7 separate regions of the Homo sapiens genome follow, and regions 2, 3, 4, 5, 6 and 7 are each linked to region 1. Evidence: promoter capture Hi-C in human tissues and cell types (Jung and others, 2019). All regions are on one chromosome and are shown on one strand. Each heading gives the region's core, a stretch centred on a gene start or on the middle of the fragment in contact. The rest is flanking DNA. Distances are from core to core; before and after follow the strand shown. Region 1 holds the start of RAB36 (RAB36, member RAS oncogene family). Region 2 has its middle 35 kb from the start of LINC01659. Region 3 has its middle 15 kb from the start of IGLL5. Region 4 has its middle 38 kb from the start of LINC02556. Region 5 has its middle 45 kb from the start of IGLL5. Region 6 has its middle 87 kb from the start of IGLL5. Region 7 has its middle 59 kb from the start of GNAZ.

What was found. Contacts are between HindIII fragments. The study calls those that stand out against the background at their distance.
Region 2: a contact is called between a fragment that was not itself captured here and the fragment with the promoter of RAB36 in region 1, in 2 of the 25 tissues and cell types used here (lymphoblastoid cells and thymus).
Region 3: a fragment that was not itself captured here is called in contact with the fragment with the promoter of RAB36 in region 1 in 7 of the 25 tissues and cell types used here (IMR-90 fibroblasts, heart left ventricle, heart right ventricle and 4 more).
Region 4: a fragment that was not itself captured here is called in contact with the fragment with the promoter of RAB36 in region 1 in 5 of the 25 tissues and cell types used here (dorsolateral prefrontal cortex, liver, mesenchymal stem cells and 2 more).
Region 5: a fragment that was not itself captured here is called in contact with the fragment with the promoter of RAB36 in region 1 in 4 of the 25 tissues and cell types used here (dorsolateral prefrontal cortex, lymphoblastoid cells, mesendoderm cells and 1 more).
Region 6: a contact is called between a fragment that was not itself captured here and the fragment with the promoter of RAB36 in region 1, in 8 of the 25 tissues and cell types used here (adrenal gland, dorsolateral prefrontal cortex, heart left ventricle and 5 more).
Region 7: a fragment that was not itself captured here is called in contact with the fragment with the promoter of RAB36 in region 1 in 1 of the 25 tissues and cell types used here (lymphoblastoid cells).

Annotation. Positions count from the first base shown.
Region 1 is chr22:23,144,223-23,146,730 of GRCh38, forward strand. It overlaps RAB36 (RAB36, member RAS oncogene family), which reads left to right and starts at 1,255. Exons shown (of 11, transcript NM_004914.5): 1 at 1,255-1,329; 2 at 2,383-2,463. The coding sequence starts at 2,395. It also overlaps a transcript of RSPH14 not described here. RefSeq lists a silencer at 1,008-1,077. The HindIII fragment of the contact is 15,551 bases long and covers 1-2,508 here.
Region 2 is chr22:23,397,783-23,400,290 of GRCh38, forward strand. It overlaps the pseudogene ZDHHC8BP. Among named protein-coding and RNA genes, the nearest start is that of LINC01659, 35 kb to the right of the region's middle. RefSeq lists enhancers at 1,118-1,672, 1,762-2,508. The HindIII fragment of the contact is 6,507 bases long and covers 1-2,508 here.
Region 3 is chr22:22,901,307-22,903,814 of GRCh38, forward strand. It overlaps IGL. Among named protein-coding and RNA genes, the nearest start is that of IGLL5, 15 kb to the left of the region's middle. RefSeq lists an enhancer at 1,011-1,110. The HindIII fragment of the contact is 9,575 bases long and covers 1-2,508 here.
Region 4 is chr22:23,363,732-23,366,239 of GRCh38, forward strand. It overlaps the pseudogene CES5AP1. Among named protein-coding and RNA genes, the nearest start is that of LINC02556, 38 kb to the left of the region's middle. The HindIII fragment of the contact is 9,016 bases long and covers 1-2,508 here.
Region 5 is chr22:22,931,493-22,934,000 of GRCh38, forward strand. No RefSeq gene overlaps it. Among named protein-coding and RNA genes, the nearest start is that of IGLL5, 45 kb to the left of the region's middle. RefSeq lists an enhancer at 573-682. The HindIII fragment of the contact is 4,927 bases long and covers 1-2,508 here.
Region 6 is chr22:22,973,184-22,975,691 of GRCh38, forward strand. No RefSeq gene overlaps it. Among named protein-coding and RNA genes, the nearest start is that of IGLL5, 87 kb to the left of the region's middle. The HindIII fragment of the contact is 4,015 bases long and covers 1-2,508 here.
Region 7 is chr22:23,010,657-23,013,164 of GRCh38, forward strand. No RefSeq gene overlaps it. Among named protein-coding and RNA genes, the nearest start is that of GNAZ, 59 kb to the right of the region's middle. The HindIII fragment of the contact is 5,108 bases long and covers 1-2,508 here.

The sequences.
Region 1 (2,508 bases), core at 5-2,504:
ATTGGCACACTCCCTTCCCCTAATTCTCTATTTACTTCTCTGCTTCCCGCAGTGGACTCCAATTTCCCTGAGGGTGGACACCATGTCCGTTCTCTTTCCTTGTCTCCCCAGTGCTAGGCATATACCAGGAAGCTTTCAGTACATGTAGGACAAATGAATAGTTAATGGACTTGAATCAAGCTTTACAGTATAAAAGCACTTTCACCATCTCAGGTGATCCATTGAAATAGATAGTTGCGTTTATTTTATAGTTGAGTAAACTGAGGTGCGGAAGGTGGAACAACTCACCTAAGTTCACCCCCTAAGCCTCAACCTTAGCAGTGAAACTCACTAAAAGACATTAAACAGAGCCAGGTGTGGTGGCCCTTGCCTGTAGTCCCAAGGACTGGGGAGGCTGAGGCGGGAGGATTCCTTGAGCCTAGGAGTTCGAGTCCAGCCTGGACAACATAGCAAGACTCCATCTCTTTAAAAAAAAAAAAAAAAGACATCAAACACCAGCCTCCAGCACACTTAGCTTTGAATTGAAGATGACTGAGTTAGATCTGTGTACCAAGGCTTCCATATTGTGATGCAGAAAAGTTAAGGAGCTGAATTAAGTAGGTTCTCAAACTGAACCCCGGACTTCGAAGCTGGTTCCACGGTTTTATAAGGGCCACAAGAGGCCATCTAGCCCAAAACAGCTAACTTTCCAAACCGAAACTAGTTCAGAGGAAATCACTGACTCAGGTCAGCTTTTTATTAAGGAAATTAATTTTGTACCGTGAGCTCTAGAAGCCAGGCATATGATATTCAGACAGCACTGGATTCAGAACTATGCAGACTAAGGTCAGTAGATGGTAGGCAGGTCTATCTTCTGCAGCTGCAGGGTGCTTGACTCCAATTAAACATCAATACCACATCAGGAGCTCTTATGCCATAACCGCCCAACCTCTCCCAGCCGAGCTGATCACCAGAACCTGCGCGAATCTCTCCACGGTCAGCCCCACCCAGGGCTCAGGCTCCGCCCCCGGGCCTCCATAGCCCCGCCCACCGCCCACCCATCCAGCACCGCCCTTGTTGTCATGGTGATCTCCGGCTCTCCAGGGTGTCCAGGAGTCTCTCTGCTGCCAGCCCCGCCCAGACTCCAGGCAGGTTCTCGTTGCTATGGTGATCGCCGGTGCAAGCTGGATGCTTGGACGCGCCGCTGCCAGTCCAACGCAGACCCCGCCCACGACGTCGACGATTCGTGTAGCCCGCAGGTCCCGCGTGGCTCTCGTTGCCATGGTGATCGCCGCCGCTGGCTCAGGCGGACCAGGCCGCGCGGAGCCCCAGCTTTCACAGCCATCGCTGGTGAGTCAGCTCGCCCACTCTGTCCGACCCTCCCGGTCACCCAACCCCGTGCTGGCACATCCCGAGGCCAGGGCCGCGAGGGCACAGCGTCCGCGCCCACTTCCCGCCCCTATAACTTGAAAGCGGCCTGCGGCCCCGGGGCGTCCTCATTTCCGGAGCGCAAACTCTGGGCCAGGCCCGCGCTGGTTGTGGAGGAGAGCCAGGTCAGATGCGGGAAGACAACCGGACTCCGCCAGGACCACCCCAGCCCAGCCTGGAGAGGAGTCCGGACAGAAAAAGGAGACAGAGGGGCTGTTGAGGAGGCTCGAGGAGTCAGAGGCCTGGTGAAGTGAGGGTTTTCAGGGAAAAGGCCTAGTTGGCTGAAAGTTAAGGCCCCCAGGCCCACCTAGAGCCTTCGTCCTTTGCAGACTGGGAGCAGGAGACCCCTCCCCACTCTACTTCCACTGCCTGAGCTGTGCCATGCCTCACAGCCCAGTAAGGTAAGCTCAGAGGGGAGCTCCTCCTTGGTAGACACCTGTCAAGGGGAGACCCAGGTCTTCTGACTCCCAGGCAGGGTGGGGCAGGCCTGGTTCCCCCATACCATGCTGCCTGCTGTATGCAGATTGAGAGAAATGGCCTCTGCCCCATATTCCTGACAGAGAGGGAAGCCTGGATCTGGTTTTATTTATAATTCTTGAGACAAGGTCTTACTCTATCACCCAGGCTGGAGTGCAGTGGCACCTTCACGGTTCACTGCACCCTTGACCTCCCAGGCTCAAGCATTCCTCCCACCTTCCTCCCAAGTAGCTGGGACTGCAGGCACAGGCCACCATGCCCTGCTAATTTTTTTGGTTTTTTTTTGTAGAGACTGAGGTTTCACTTTGTTGCCCAGGCTGGTCTCAACCTCCTGGGCCCAAGTGATCCTCCCACCTTGGCCTCCCAAAGTGCTGGGATTACAGGCATGAGCCACTGCACCCAGCCTGGATCTGATGAAAAGTTAGGTGGAAACTCATGGGTGAATCCCCAGGTATTTGCACAGCTCCTTAACTGTCTTTCTCCTGGTTGGGTCCACAGGACTGTGGAAGAATGAGGTCCTCCCTGACACCTTTGGGGCCCCCTGTGAGCCGCGACCGTGTCATCGCCAGCTTCCCTAAGGTAGAGAGTCATTACGTCTGCAGTGCTCTCCTGGCCCTGCAGCCA
Region 2 (2,508 bases), core at 9-2,508, 250 kb after region 1:
GCTGTGGAGGCGTGGCACTCTCTCCCGCCGATGGGTCCACACCAGGCTGGGGTGGCCTTGGGTCCCTGGGGCAGAGAAGTTGATGGGGAACGGGGGTGTGCTGCGGGGTCCTGGTCCCCGTGGCACCACGGCGGATGGGTGGTGGTCAGTCCTCACACCAGGATCTCGTACATGGTCCCACCCACGCCAGACACCTTCTTAACCAGCGTGTGCCACATAGATCTGGCAGAGGGCCCTGGGGGGCCTGTGGCAGGTCCCAGCCGGGCCAGGCCCAGAGACTGCCCATTAAGCTTACCTGGGGGAGTCTTCAGCTGAGGGTGGTCCCTGCATCAAAACAAGCACATACACGCATGCACACGGTGAACACACGAACACGGGGACAGAGGACGGAGGAGGCAACAGGACAGAGACGACACAGACGTGGACTGGTGTAGCCATGTCGTGGGGCCCTGGGCAGTCCCTGCCCTCTAGGCTCGGAGGGTTCACCCAGAAAGTAGGAGGGAGATGCAGAGCCTGCCTGGGGAGCGGCTGTGCCATCACAGGACAGATGTTGTCAGAACTGCCACCACCCTCCCAAGTCCCTGGGTCCCTAGGCAGCACTGGCCACAGAGAGCATGGGGCAGTCAGGTGGGCACTGAATGGAGCCCCTGCCCTGCTCTGCACTGGGAGCCCGGCCACTCTGCCTGGCCTCATTCCTGCTCTCTCTCAGGAAAACGAGGGGCTGCCCTCCTGCCCACCAGCGCTGACCAACAGCAGCTCTATCCTTGCTGCTTAAACCTTCTCAAGGTGAGAGCCCTTTGTCCCCGGGCTGCGATCCCTGCCTGGCTGCAATGCTGCCCACTTCTAGGTCTCGGGCTCCCCACTCATCACTCCCAGTGGCAGCCTCCTCCCCAACTCCACAAAAGCTGAACAGACTCCTACCCTGTGGGGTAGGGGAGGCCTCCTCAGGGCTGGACTGCTGTGCCCTCAGCCCCTTTGTGGCCAAGTGGCCTGGGCTGGGCTGGGCGGGGCTGGGCTCTCCCCCTGGGGCCGCATCTGACGACAGGAAACAGCTGAGCCTGTGCTTGAGGTTTCCAGGCCCAGACGGGGTGACAGACGACAGATGCCGTGAGGACACCATGCGTCCGTGGCGTGGGTCCTGGCCCCAGCAGGTGTGCAGCTCTCCTACCTGGGCCTGGGCCTACAAGCCAGCTGACCCCGCTCTCTCAGTTACCAACCTGCTGGGTGCCTGGAGCCAGCCTGCTTTCTCCAGTCCTCAGTTTCCCCACTACGAGCAGGGAAGCCCCTGCTTCCCAGAACTATGTCCCACAGGGAGGGCCAGGGCCCGGCCACCCAGGGAGGCACATTCTGCTGCGAGGTAATGTCCTCAGCCCCAGCCTCCTAGAGATGCAGCAAAGCAGGCCCAGGGAGAGCACCGGGTAGACAGGGCCACTGTGACCCAGGATGCCAGAGCCACAGCCTAAAGGAGGCCCAGGCTGCCACATGATACTGACCCCAAAGAGAAAGCCCCATGGCCTCCTACGTGCTGGGTCTGTGCCAGCTCTGGAAGAACAAGTCATTGGGATCAGGACACAAATTCTCATACCCTGTCCCCAGAGCATGCCCAGGACATCCTCAGAGCTGGGCCACACGGGCTAGCCAAAGCCTTCAATGCAGGGTGAGGCGCATCCTCCCTGTCCCGTCCCCAGAGAAAAACTCAGGCCCCTGGGATGACCTATGAGTGCCCAGCCAAGAGGGGCCCTGCAGACGGCTGGACAGCTGCCCTGTGCCAGGAAGCCCACCCGCACCTCCCAGCACCCACCTCTGCACGGTCAGCGAGGGCGGTGGCTCTAGGAGGTCCATTTGGATGAAGGTGACACCTTTGGGGCCTGTGTAGGATGGTGAGTGGGGAGTGCCGGGCGGGGAGGGCAGGCCCTGGCGTGCGGGCGACCTGTGTGAGCCACTACTGGGCCGGGGCCCCGGGGCGTTGCTGCTGACCTGATCAGCCTGCAGGGAGGAGGACGACGTCCGCAGTGCACGGCTCACGGAGCTGGAAAGCGAGGACAATGATGTCTGCAGGACAGGGTTGCAGGCGCCGCCGAAGCCGGGCCTGGCCACAAGGTCATCTGTAGAGCTGTAGCACAGCGTAGGACCTCGGAAGCCCTCAGACAGCACACTGGCCTGCTGCAGGCTGTAGGAGCTGGGAGCATCATAGACGCCTGAGTCGCCGAAGAGTGAGTCGGCCTGGGAGCGCAGCAGGCACTCACGCTCCTCCCTGTCCTTGCGCTCCTGGATGGATGCCATGATGGTCCTGGACAGGATGTCGTAGAGCACAGGCGAGGGCTCCTGGGGCCGGGGGCCCAGCACGGGACTGAAGCTGTGGGGCAGGGGCCATGGTGGGTCGCCCGTTGCCCCAGGGTGCAGGTAGGGTGAGTGGTATCCGGCCACGCCAACTGCTGGATGGGCGAGGCAGGCGTGGCCACCAGGCGAGCCAGGGTTGAGCACATTATTGTAGGACAGGCTGCGATT
Region 3 (2,508 bases), core at 4-2,503, 240 kb before region 1:
TCACCCCCCACCACGGGAGACTAGAGCTGCAGGATCCCAGGGGAGGGGTCTCTCCTCCCACCCCAAGGCATCAAGCCCTTCTCCCTGCACTCAATAAACCCTCAATAAATATTCTCATTGTCAATCAGAAATCTTGTTTTATCTCATTTTTTCTTTTCTCACATATAATTCCTAGCCTTTCCTGGGTTCTCAATTTGTGGTGGAAAGAACCCTGAACCCAGTGGGAAAGTTGCCTATGTGAAGGGGTTCTCAGTTCCCTGGGCATCTCTGCAGGTAAGGCCTTCCTCACCCAGACACCCCTTCCTCAGCTCTCCACTGTACCCCTGAGCCACCAGCCTCGCCTGGCTGGGACCAGGGGGGTGTCACACTCTCCTAGATTCTGCCTTTCAACAGAAACCTAACCACGCATCACACGGCACTTCTCGCATGCCTTCTGTGTCTGCTCCAGTCTCTGGGCTAAAGAGTTGCTGGTCCGGGACAGGGGATAGGTCCGCTCTTGGTCAGATGCCAGGTCCCTGCCATGGCATCCCTGACCCTATGCAACAAGCCAGTGACTCTGGTGAGCTCTCTGTGTCAGGAGAATCCATGATCCAGAGTTTCATATTGTCCTGCAAGCATCTGGTGGGCTGTAGCTCTTGCCAAACTGGGAAATACCATGGCCCAGCATCAGGATGCAGGACAGTCCGGAGAGGGAAATCAGGAGAAGTGAAGGGGTCTCTGGGGAGCCCAGATGTGGGCTAGAGGCAGAAGTAAGGGTGAAGAGCACCTATGAGTCAATGTCATGGTCTCAGCAGGAACACAGTTGAAAATCCCCATTCCACACAAGACCGTTTAGCAGGAAAGGAGTCCATACTTGTGCTGCCACCAGGATGTCCTGAGAAGCCTTGGAGAATGAAACATACAGGTGCATTTCCTAGACTTGACAATGCACGTTAGCCAAGTAAAGGCAATGAAAAGTTCTCTACTAGGGAAATAATTTCCTGTGGTAAAGCTTAGCTTATGTAAAGTCACATTTATCCATCTGGCACCTCTAAAAGCCCCATAATATTCTGCAAGATACTAGTATGTCATGGAAGTAGTTTATGAAACATAAAGTGAGATTTAAGAACAAAGATGTTACGGGTGTATGATAAGATGGCTACAGGCTCAGGGTCAGGCTCGAGGAGTGAAGGAGGCCGTGTCAAATTCATGACAAGAGTTGGAGCTGGGCCAGGCTGGGTCAGGGCTGTGTGAATGCAGACAGAGGGCTACAGGCAAGGTCAGGCATCCATGAACACTCAGCTCCCCCAGACCCTCCTGCCCACTGGGACCTTCGCCCTCCCTTGGTCACAGTGGTGGAGCCTTCCTACCCAAACCTCTATGGAGGCCCTGGATGACTGTGCGTTCTTAGTGCCCACGCAAACTTAGACTCCCTGTCTCTGCCTCCAGCACATCAGGAATGTGGCAGCTGAGTTCACCAGAGCTGCTGGGTGGTCCCGACAGGCCAGGGACAGAGCCCGCAAAGACAGGAAGCTCTGCAGTCACAATGAGGCAGAGAAATGGCCCCTTGGTGCTTGATCACAGCCACCCCTGATCCAAATCCCAGCCTCTGAATTAGAAGAAGGCTAAAAGGTTCTAGTGGCCACAGTCCCTGTCTAAGCCCATTTCACAAATGAGAAAACTAAGACCACCCAAGGAGGGCCAGTTACGTAGGCCTGCTGGGTACAAGGCCAAGGTCTACTTCACACCCAGCAGCTGTCCAAAGACTGAGCTGTGTCATAAGTTTATATTATGAAGAACTCTGAACATATAAATAAGGAGACAGAAAAATAACAGTGTCCCATGTTCTCATCACCCAGCACTCAAAATAAGCAATTCACAGATGATGCCGACCCACCCACAGCAAAATAAATTCTCCCTTACACAACATTTAGAAAGAAATACAAGACATCAGATCTGTTCAGCTGTAAGTACTCCATTACTGTCCTGGAATGACATGGACCTTAAAATAACTATAATATCACTACCAAACCTAAATAGAAATTATCACTAATTCCCTAATATCGAGAAATAAGCAGGGTCTCCTCAAATGCATCAGAAACACCAGAAGTGCTTTGGCTTAGTTACATGTTGGTGCTGTTGGTATTTGGGGGTTTAAGTTTATATGAGGAGCAATATGACATCAAATGGTGATGGGTGCATGTGCCATCAGGCTGGTTGTCACTGGTGAATATTTCCTCAATTGCTCTAGAGCCTCCCGGCAAGGCAGGAGCTGCAGGAGCTGAGAGCTGTCTGGAGAACTTCCCCTGGCTGCTATACAGCCACGCCTCCTGGAGCAGGAACCTAGGGCTTCCCTCAGCTTTTATTTTCCTGGAAAATGATTCTAGCATGAAGGGGATTAACTTGATTCAGATTGGACATTGCAAAATAGCTTGCAAGGACAGGGAGCTGCTACCAGCAGAGTCACCCATGTCAGACTGCCACTCTTGTAGTAATGTTAGCTGCATAGGATGGTCAATAGCTACATCC
Region 4 (2,508 bases), core at 5-2,504, 220 kb after region 1:
TGACTGCCTAAGAGACACCAACTTGGCTTTGACACCAAGTTCAAAGAGAAGCCAGAAAATTTCAAAACTGGTATTTGCTGTTCTCCTTCTAACGACCTTTGCGGGTGGGGCCTCTGAGAAGCCACAGTGGGAGGTCAGGCAGTAGCAGTGAGGCTGGTGGCCACCAGCTGAGAACTTGGCAAGGGACTCAACTTTTCCTGTCTCAGGCTCCTCATCTGTAAGATGGAGTTTGCAACAGGTACCTCCTGCCAGGGTGGTGATGAGAACTGAAAGAGTTGATATTTGTAAAGCTCTTACAGTGGTACTTGGTATATAGTAAGCGCTTTGTGTGAATATTTGTGAAATTACCATTTTCTGGCAAAATTACAGCTTTAAAATGTGAGGCAGCAGAAATACTATCCACCTGACAAATAAATTTTCTTGGTATGTTTTCTGCTGAAAATCTTGGGGTAATGAATCACTAGGGCCAATACTTAAATGAATACTAGGGCCATACCTGTCTCCTGGAATCTCAGGGGAACCTCAGAGTCATTCATGTTACCTACAAGCATATTCTAACTACTAAAAACCTTCTTGTACATTAAGGAGCTGGGATTTGTTTCTGGGGGATTTCCTGTGGTTTCTAACAGCTAGCAATGGGTTTAACTGCAAATTCACATGGAATTTCAGCACCCACACAGGCTTTTGAGCTCTGCAAATTCTGTCAGTTGAATAACTCCAATATCTAGCATTTACTGAGGACTGACTATATGCCAGACTGTTTGATGTATAGCTGTGAGGTAGGTGCTAAGAATAGCCGTATTTCACAGATGAAGGAATGGAGACTCAGAGAGGGTAGGCAACTTCCCTAATGTCACACAGCAGGTAAGCAGAGAACTCGGCATTTAAAGGCAGAACCTAGTCTGGGCACAGGCTCATGTCTGTAATCTCAGCACTTTGGGGGGCCAAGGTGGGTGGATCACTTGAGGTCAGGAGTTCAAAACCAGCCTGGCCAACATGGTGAAACCCTGTCTCTGCTAAAAATACAAAAAAAATTAGCTAGTCGTGGTGGCAGGCACCTGTAATCCCAGCTACTCTAGAGGCTGAGGCAGAAGAATCGCTTGAACCCGGGAGATGGAGGTTGCAGTGAGCCAAGATTGTGCTACTACACTCCAGCCTGGGCAACAGAGTGAGACTCTGACTCAAAAATAAAATAAAATAAAATAAAAAACAGAGCCTAAATGCATAAAAATTACACACCAGTGTCTCCTTACTAGCTAGGAGATGCTGGAAAGCCACTTTAGCTGCTCTGAGCCTCAGTTTCTTTAAAATAGGGATAATCATGCCTGTTTTCAAGTTCCTGCTTGGATTGCCTGTGCTTGGCACTAGAAGGCATTGGGGAACTGGTTACAGTAGTTACAGTGGTGGTTGTCATCACTAGCACTGCCTTCTTCTTTCTAATACACACCCAGAAATCACTGAAAGGCCTTACCTAAGCCATCAACTGTGATTCACTGGCCTCATCTGCAACATGAGGACAAAAATCCCTAGTCCCACTTGAAAACATTGCCTTGGAGGTCAAATTAATAATGGTACAACATGCTTTCACAACCCAATGAACTCGGGATTCTGGTTCTAGCAGCCATCAACTAGCTTTGTAATTTGACAAACCTCTTTATTTCTTAACCCCATTTCCCCCAGCTTAAAATGAGGTCAGTCTATATAAATGAGCTTCAACAGTATTAGGAATTTGAAGCCTCCACTCTTCTGAGGACAGATGAAAAGTTTATTTCCAATGAAGAGAGTCTTCCTAAACCATGGAATCAAAAAATCATGGGTTTTTCCCGGCACCCAGGCCTCAGCTCAACAATCTCTCCCCCAGAGGAGCCTTTCCTAACCACCTGTTGTCTCCCTAAAGATAACTTCTCTCCCCACTTGTGCCCTTCATAGCATCTATCACTCTCCGAAATCATCTTCTCAACCTCGTGTCTCCTCTGTCTCTCCCCACTAGAGTGTAAGCGCTCAGAAAGCTGGTACCACGCTCGCTGCCAACTGCTCAGTTTTTATAAGCCTGTAATAAATACTCAGCACATACTTGTTGAATAAATAAAATGATTCAACAATTTTGCAACTTATACAACCTTAGCATTCTTGGATGTCAAGATGCTAGAACCAAGGCTGGACATGAAAAGTTTAAAGGACTGAAGTTTTTCAAACCTATCTGAATGTCAACTCTGAAGTAGTAACTGCATTTTTTGGAAACAATAATTTATAGTATTTTTTGAACAAAGACCAAATGGACCCATCCCCTCTTTCCTTTTTATGTAGTTGTTTCTTCCACCCTAAACCTCATCACATGAGGAGCAAGGCAGACACTTGCTGTGACTGGCCTGGCCTGGTCCTCGCTTATCCTCTTTCAGAGAGAGGAAAGGTGATCACTGTGTGCTTGGCTGGTGGGCTCCAGCACTTACAACAGTGGATGTCACCTGTGGAAATGCCCAGCTGTTGAAGCCAAGAGCTGCATCACAG
Region 5 (2,508 bases), core at 6-2,505, 210 kb before region 1:
GGCTGCCCAGAGCGAAGTCACATGTTCAGCTCTCTTCTGAGGACCTGCTGCTCCTGGAAACCCAGCAGGGTTAAGGCAGGCACAGCCAGGTTCAGACAGCTCATGTTTGCGGGAGAGGGAAATCAAGTCAACAGACAAGGAACAATGTCATGTAGGAGGCGGGATTTGTGCTGGGGAGAAATAGGGCAGAGGATGGGGGGTAGGGAGCACCTGGCTGGGGTCTCACGGGGGGCGACGTCCCAGGGGCTGGAGGCAGCCAGCGACTGAGGAGCCCTGACTAGCGCCAGGCCCCTGTGGCTGGAGTTAGTGGCTCGAGCTCAGCCTCAGTTTCCCCTCTGTGCAGCTGGGTTGATAATAATGGAAACTGACTCTCTGGGTGGGGGGAGGGACAATCAGATGGAAAATAGATGTTTTGTTTGTCTCTGCCGTTGGTTGTTTTCATCCTTGGGCTGTTCCAGCCCCAGACAGCCTCAGGCCAGCCCCCTGCCCATGCTGGGCTCCCCACCGGCCCTGGAACCCTCACCCCAGTGCAGCTGGCCTGGTGAAACCAAGAGTGCCTGAGGCCCGAAATAGCTGGGAAACCCCACCAAGCCTCAGCCCTGGCAGCAGGTGCCTCCTTCTCCCCAGGGTGGGAGGCAGGGGGGCGATTCAGTTTCCAAAGCTTCCACCAGCCCAGCTGGAGAATGGTCCTGTGTCCCCGCACCAAGACACCCAAGCCCCGTGCCCAGGCTTGAGTTAGACAGGGTCTGGAGATCATGGTCAATCAATGATCAGAAGTAGCACCTTCTGCTCCAGAAGCTTCTATTCATGCAGGCCCTACCCCCTCCTCACAGCTCCCCAGGAACCGTTCTAAATGCCAGGTTCAGAGCTGTGCCCAATTGGGGGGCACAGCCAGACACTTGGAGCTCAGAGGGGCCTGGGGTGGGCAGGGCTGGCCAGAGCTGGACATGGGACCCTGCTGATCACACTCCACCTGCTGCCCCCAGGTCTTGGACCCTTCAAGGGAGCTGGGCCAAGTAAGGGGATGGGAAGGGAAACAAGAACCCTTCCAAGAGCTTCCCTGGGAGCCCAGAGCCTGAGGCAGTAACGAAGCTCCTGGAAGCACAGCTGCCAAGAGGACTTCCGGGGTCCCTACCCAGTGGGCAGGACCTCAGACTGGTCAGTCACTTATTTGTGTGTCTGTCCATCCATATATCTGAACATGCACACACACACACACGCGCGCACACACACACACACACACACACTCATCCTTCCACAAGCCCCGAGGCCTGGCCTGTGCAGGGCTCTTGACACATGGTGTCCCAGGCAAGGCAGGACTGCCCCAGCCCACCCCCAGGTGAGACCTGGAGTGTGCCTTCTCATGGGAGGAGGGGGCTGTGGCCTTGGGGTGCCCCATTCCCTGTCCAGTCTTCCCCATGCTGGGTCTAGATGCTGAGGTCAAAGAGAGGTTGACAGGTGTGAGGAACAGGCCACTGTGGTGAGGCTTAATGCCCCCTGTCCGATGACCAGATCCTACCCACTGCCCCCGTTACAGACCTCCCTGTCTTTCTCCATGTGGAGGAAACGTTCCCAGGATATTCCAGGGCTCCAGGTTCTGATGAGAGTATGGGAGGAGACCAAGTACCCAGCCTCAGGGCCTGGGTTCACCCCTGCAGACGGCAAATCCCATCCACCTGTGGGACTTCACCAGCTCATTCTTAGAGGACACCAGCCTGGAGCTCCCTTGGCCCAGGAAAGCCAGGAGCCAGGCCCGCCACACGTAGCCATTGCACATGTCACCTGACACATAAGATGCGAACTGTAGGGTGGGCAGGCCAGGGATGAGTGCCCCCACCTCTGCCTTCCTCCCCACAGGCCCACCCACGAGGCTGAACAGGGTGGCCCTAGACCCAGCACCATCTTCAATCAGCTCATCCACTGGCATCCCCCACCACCGTCCCCTCAACATGCACAGGATGCCAGCCACCCAGGCCAGTTCCTGAAGTAAAGCAAGCAAGGGGGGGTACTTGTCCCCGCCCAGCCCAGAGCTCAGATTGCAGATGAGACCCCCTTGCTTGAAGAAGACAAGGGGCAGGAGATACTGGGGATTCCATGTGGTCATCAAAGGTAGCCTGGTGGCAGCAGCAACCTCAAACAGGCCTAGGAGCTGGATCAAGGACTGAAGGGCAGAGAGAGGACGGGTGTGTTAGGGGTGAGTGTGAGCAAAGGTATAGGAGTGACCACAGCATCCCTTCTTCCCACAGGGCCACAGTAGTGCACAAGGGCCCTCATGGAAGCACCCTGAAAGCTCACCTCAAAGGCCCCATACTCTGTCCCCCACGTCACCTGGCCTGCCACCCTACTTAATACCCAGGAAGTCCTTGGAGTCTGTGCCACATGGATGGGCTCCAAGATGGACCAGGCTTCCAGGGGGGCAGGGAACAAGGGAGAAAAGAGGTCTGGGCCCTGCATAGGACACAGGTAGTGACCACCCGGTGGAGGAGAGGGAATGAGCAGAGGATGCTG
Region 6 (2,508 bases), core at 4-2,503, 170 kb before region 1:
TATACCCCTAAAGCTATTGAAATCTGGAAAAAAAAAAAAAAAAAGATGTCCCTTAACCACACTATCCAGGGCCAGATACAGCCTATGTTCCACTGGAAGGTCAAGTGAGTATGAAAGTTTAGGTTGCTGTCACTTATGTCCCCTAAGCTGAGCTATTAACCATTAGAGGCCTCTGCCTGGCCTGCATCACCAAGCAGGAGTGGCTGGTGACAATGCCACCAAAACAATGCCACTAATTGCTAACCAATGGTGGAGTTTTTATTTTGGGTGGCCCCTACTCAGCTGAAGACTGCATGCCCATGTGACCTTACTTTGGGGTGTTTATTGGGTCACGGCTTCTTACAGTGGGACATGTGGCCCTTTGAAGTACAATCTTTGGGCAATCTCGAGGGCTTATGCATCACTGCGCTTCTAGTGGGCAGCTGCAGCAATGGAGCTGTGGACTCCTTTCTTTTAAGAGACTTTTGTATCAGAAGAGAAAATACAGGCCCTTTATTCCAAATGTAAAGGGACTCCTTTATATCTGAGATTTTTATCCAGATCATTCACATAATTTTTAAAAATTGTCCTCAGTTATTAGAAGCATCATTCTGGGTGGCCTGGGCAGGGGCTCTGAAGATTGAGCACCTGTTTGGGGATCTTTCCCTTAGTGCTGTTATTGAATTAGGAAGCCCACACAAAACTTTGTCTTGGTCACACTTTGGGTCTATGTCTGGCCAAAGGCAAAGGATGAATGAGCCATCTGGTCACTTCCAGAGGACACTTGCTGCTCCTTCCTTTCTGGAAGTCATAAAACATGCATGCAGATCCAGAAAGCTCTGATTCCTTTCCTTTTTTAGATTATCTTTCCCCTGGTTCTTTTTAAGAATCATACATTGTTTAAAAAAAAAAAGAATCATATATTGTTAACTACAAAAGTTTTGCATGCTCATTGTAAGAACTGAAAAATGCATAAAACCTTAAAGAATAAGTTACTATTCTTCCCCCATCCATTCCTATCTTTCTGAAGTAACCAGAAGCTGTGTATCTTTCCTCCCCTTCCTTTTGTCTTGTCTTTCTCTCTCTTCTTTTTTTTTTTACAGAGTCTTTTCTCTCTTGCCCAGGCTGGAGTGTAGTGTGCAATAACATGATTTCGGCTCACTGCAGCCTTGAATTCCTGGGCTCAGGTGATCCTCCCATGTCAGCTCCCCCAAGTAGTTGGGACTACTGGTGCATGTCATAACGTCTGGCTAATACTTGTTTAATTTTTTGTAGAAACAGGTATTACCACGTTACCCAGTTTAGTCTCAAACTCCTGGACTCAAGTGATTTTCCTGCCTTAGCTCCCCTAAAATTCTGGATTACAGGCATGAGCTTCCTCCCCTTTCTCAGTGCTTATGCAAACATACGAACGCATATGTAGAATTTTTGCATTGTCTTCACAAAAAGTAGGATTATATCAAACACATTACTCTGCAGCTTGATTTTTAACTTAATATATTAGAGTCCTAAGGTACAATAGATACAATACAATAGATACAGACCTAGCTCATGTTTTAATCAGCTACATAGTTGTCATACAAACGTGTACTATTCAGCTCTTCCCTATTAATTGACACTTAGATTGTTGCCAGGTTTGTTTGTTTACTGTGTTGGTGCTTTTCATTTGTGTGGTGTGGATTCCCAAAATTGAACTTGCAGAGTCAGAAGGACATGTTTACATTTTAATAGCTATCGCTAAATGGCAATCCCCAAAGGTTGTTGACATCTGCATTTCACACTGGCAGCATATGAGCATGCCCTTTTCCCCAAGCTCTCCCCAGCCTTGACAGCTGCTTGTTTAATTTGTGCATGTGCCAATCTGATGGGAAAGCAGTGATGTCTCGTAGCTTTCATTTGCTCTTCCCAAATGCTATTGATACAGGAGTTAAGAAGAAATCACTTACCCAGATAGTAAGGGTATGGAACTCCTTGGTAAGGCTTTTCTCATTAATAAAAAGCAGCCCCAAATTATTTTCTTACAAAGAACAGCCTGTAAATTCAAGCTGCAGCCACAGATAAGCAAGATGGGAGCTTGCACAGGTGAATACTGGCAGGAACTAGGGACTAGACATGTTCAAGACGACAGCTCCATATTCCCTTCACTTTGTCAGCCACGTGAACAGTAAAGAGCAGACAAGATGGCACCGGGCAACTGGTAAGCTCAGTTGCATAAGATTACTTATTATGCAATGCTATGTAAACATCATACCTGATTGAACCAATCTGTGAGCCTTATGTAAATCAGACACCACCTTCTCCAGCGTACTTATAAAATCTGCTGCGGTCCACTATCTCCCGCTTTTCAGACATCTCTCTCTCACAAGGAGCTTCTCTTCTCTCTCCTTTCTCCTATTAAACTCTCCACTCCTTAACCTACCCACATGTGTCCATGTCCTCGATTCTTTCTTGGTGTGAGACAACAAAACCCAGGGTATACACCCCAGAAAATGTAGCCATTTCAGTTGGGGGTTCTCATCTGGGATTGGG
Region 7 (2,508 bases), core at 7-2,506, 130 kb before region 1:
CAAAACGGATGAACCTTACCCAGTGTCCACTGGTGATGTAGTGCTATTCAGATACCACCTCTGGTAGATGGCTTCTAAGGTCAGTGTCTTTGTGGAATCACTGTGGATTCAGTTGGAAGTGAAAGTGCAGCCTGCTGACTCCGTATTCATTTCAGTTGGAGGTTTGCTCTTCTGCCGTGTTCATGAAGATAGTTTAGGAAATGGGTGTTTAACTGATCACAATCTCGCTGAAAATTGCTGGCATTCATACCATCTCAGGTGAGGTTACTCTAACCACACAAGTACTTACATTGGCACACTCTACTTAGTGGATGACAGAGAAGTCATTCTACCTAAAGATAGAGAAGTCTATCTCTGTGAATGACAGAGATGTCATTCTACCTAACATCTCTGCAGTTTGTAGAAAAACTCTTTATAGAGTTTGTAGACATTGAAGCAGCAGTCTCCAGCTTTTGCACTTACCCTAAGTCTGTAAATGACATTGCTAAGACCTGAGGAGACTGAACAATGAAAAGAACAGAGACGGGGGGCCTAAGTAGTGTCCTCCCACTAGAAATCAGCTTGGGCTGGCTGGGTCCCTCCCAGGGGTCTGACAGGGACAACAGCGATTATGTCTGCGGTGGGGAGGGACACTGCAGGCCACCAGGTAAAAGACTGGGAGCACAGAAGACAAATGATGGGGAGGCAGCAGCCATGGGCCACCTGGTCAGGCCTGATCAGATGGAATCTTTTGTAGGGGCAGTTCTGTCCTAGGCAGCTACTGCCTAGGTTCTGAGAGTGGAAGCTCTCACCACTCCTTCTTTCCAGCAACAGTGCAAATCTCAGATGCTGGGTGTTTCCCTGGCAGTTCACCAGAGACCAAGGGGAAAGAATCAAAGTGAGGCACAGAATGCCCTCAATCAGTGGTTCACAGTGCAGAGGAGTGGGAATTGGATTTTTCTTCCCAGAGGGCACTTGGTAATGTTTGGAGGCATTCTGGGTTGTCACAGCTGGGCCAGGGGGAGCTCTGCTGGCTGTTAACTGTTGCTTCCAGGTCAGGTGCAGTGGCTCATGCCTATAATCCCAGCACTTCAGGAGGCTGAGGCAGGAGGATCCTTTGAGCTCAGGAGTTTGAGACCAGTGTGGGCACCATGGCAAACTCTGTCTCTACAAACATTTTTAAAATTAGCCAGGTGTGATGACACACACCTGTAGTCCCAGCTACTCAGGAGGCTGTGGGAAGACTGCTTGAGCCTGGGAGATCCAGGCTGCAGTGAGCTATGATCATGCCATTGCACTCCACCCTGTCTTAAAAAATAATGATAAAAATTTTTAAGAAAGGGAATTAAAGGGAAATTAGGAAATTGTGACACAGAAGGGCAAGATAAGAATCCAACAAGAGATCATGAAGGACATTAAAGAGAGAAAACAGGATGGACTAAAACTAAGCATAAGTCACTCACTGAATTAAAGAGATCAAGCGCCTGAATGTGGAGAACTGGGGGTGTGGTGGGGAGTATACAGAGTACTTGATGTGGGAGTAACTTTCAGAAGAGTGAGTCAAATGTGGCTTTCTTTCTCTCTCTTTGCCTGTTCAGGTGGTTTGATAGCTGTGGTTTATACCAGCATCTTGAATGCTGACATTATGCTTTGGGGATCAGTCATGTTAATAGGCTTTGGGAAGTAAAACAAGATGACTGGGTACCATGGTGGAACCTTTGGCTCTAGAGCTGCCTGGGCCATCAGCATCTTTGTCTCACAGATGAGGATGATACAGAAGGACTGGGCTCTCGGCTAAACCCCAACCTTAACCCTGGAACCACAGCTCTAAGTGAAAACAGCTGACCCTGTTTTTCCACCCAAATATTGCCTTTTTGGCCTGCTCCACCCCTATCCTGTGCCCATAAAAAACTTCAGAGGCAGAGCAACACAAACAGCTGAGTGTCAAGGTATAAGCGGCTGAGTGACAGACAAGCAACTGAGCGTCAGAGACTATAAAAAAACACAGCTAATTTCAGACAGTGCAGTTTTGGAGAAGGGTCTGACCAGAAACGGTTAGGCTTTAGGAAAAGATCACTTTCCCATCCTTTTTCCAGCCAAGTGGGAGGTGCCAGCCATCTGGCTACATGGGACCCCTAACCCGAGGCTTCCCTGGGGACTGGGAGGTGTGCGCAGCTCATTGCTGCCTCGCTTAGCCCTTGAACATGGCACACGCATGCAGCAGACACGCCCAGGCTCCTAAGCAGGGAGGGGAGGGGGTGAGCAGAGGAACCACCACACACCATGCCTGCCCGTGGCTGTTGGGGTGAGTGTGGGGATGGCACCTCTAAGAAAAAACGGGAATCACATTGTTCTGAATTCCATATCTAATGGCTAGGCCAAACACTCATTCTACCTAACATCTCTGCAGTTTGTAGCAAAACTCTTTATGAGAGAGATAGAAGCCAGTCAGGCACGGTGGCTCACGCCTGCAATCCCAGCACTTTGGGAGGCCGAGGTGGGCAGATCACCTGAGGTCAGGAGTTCGAG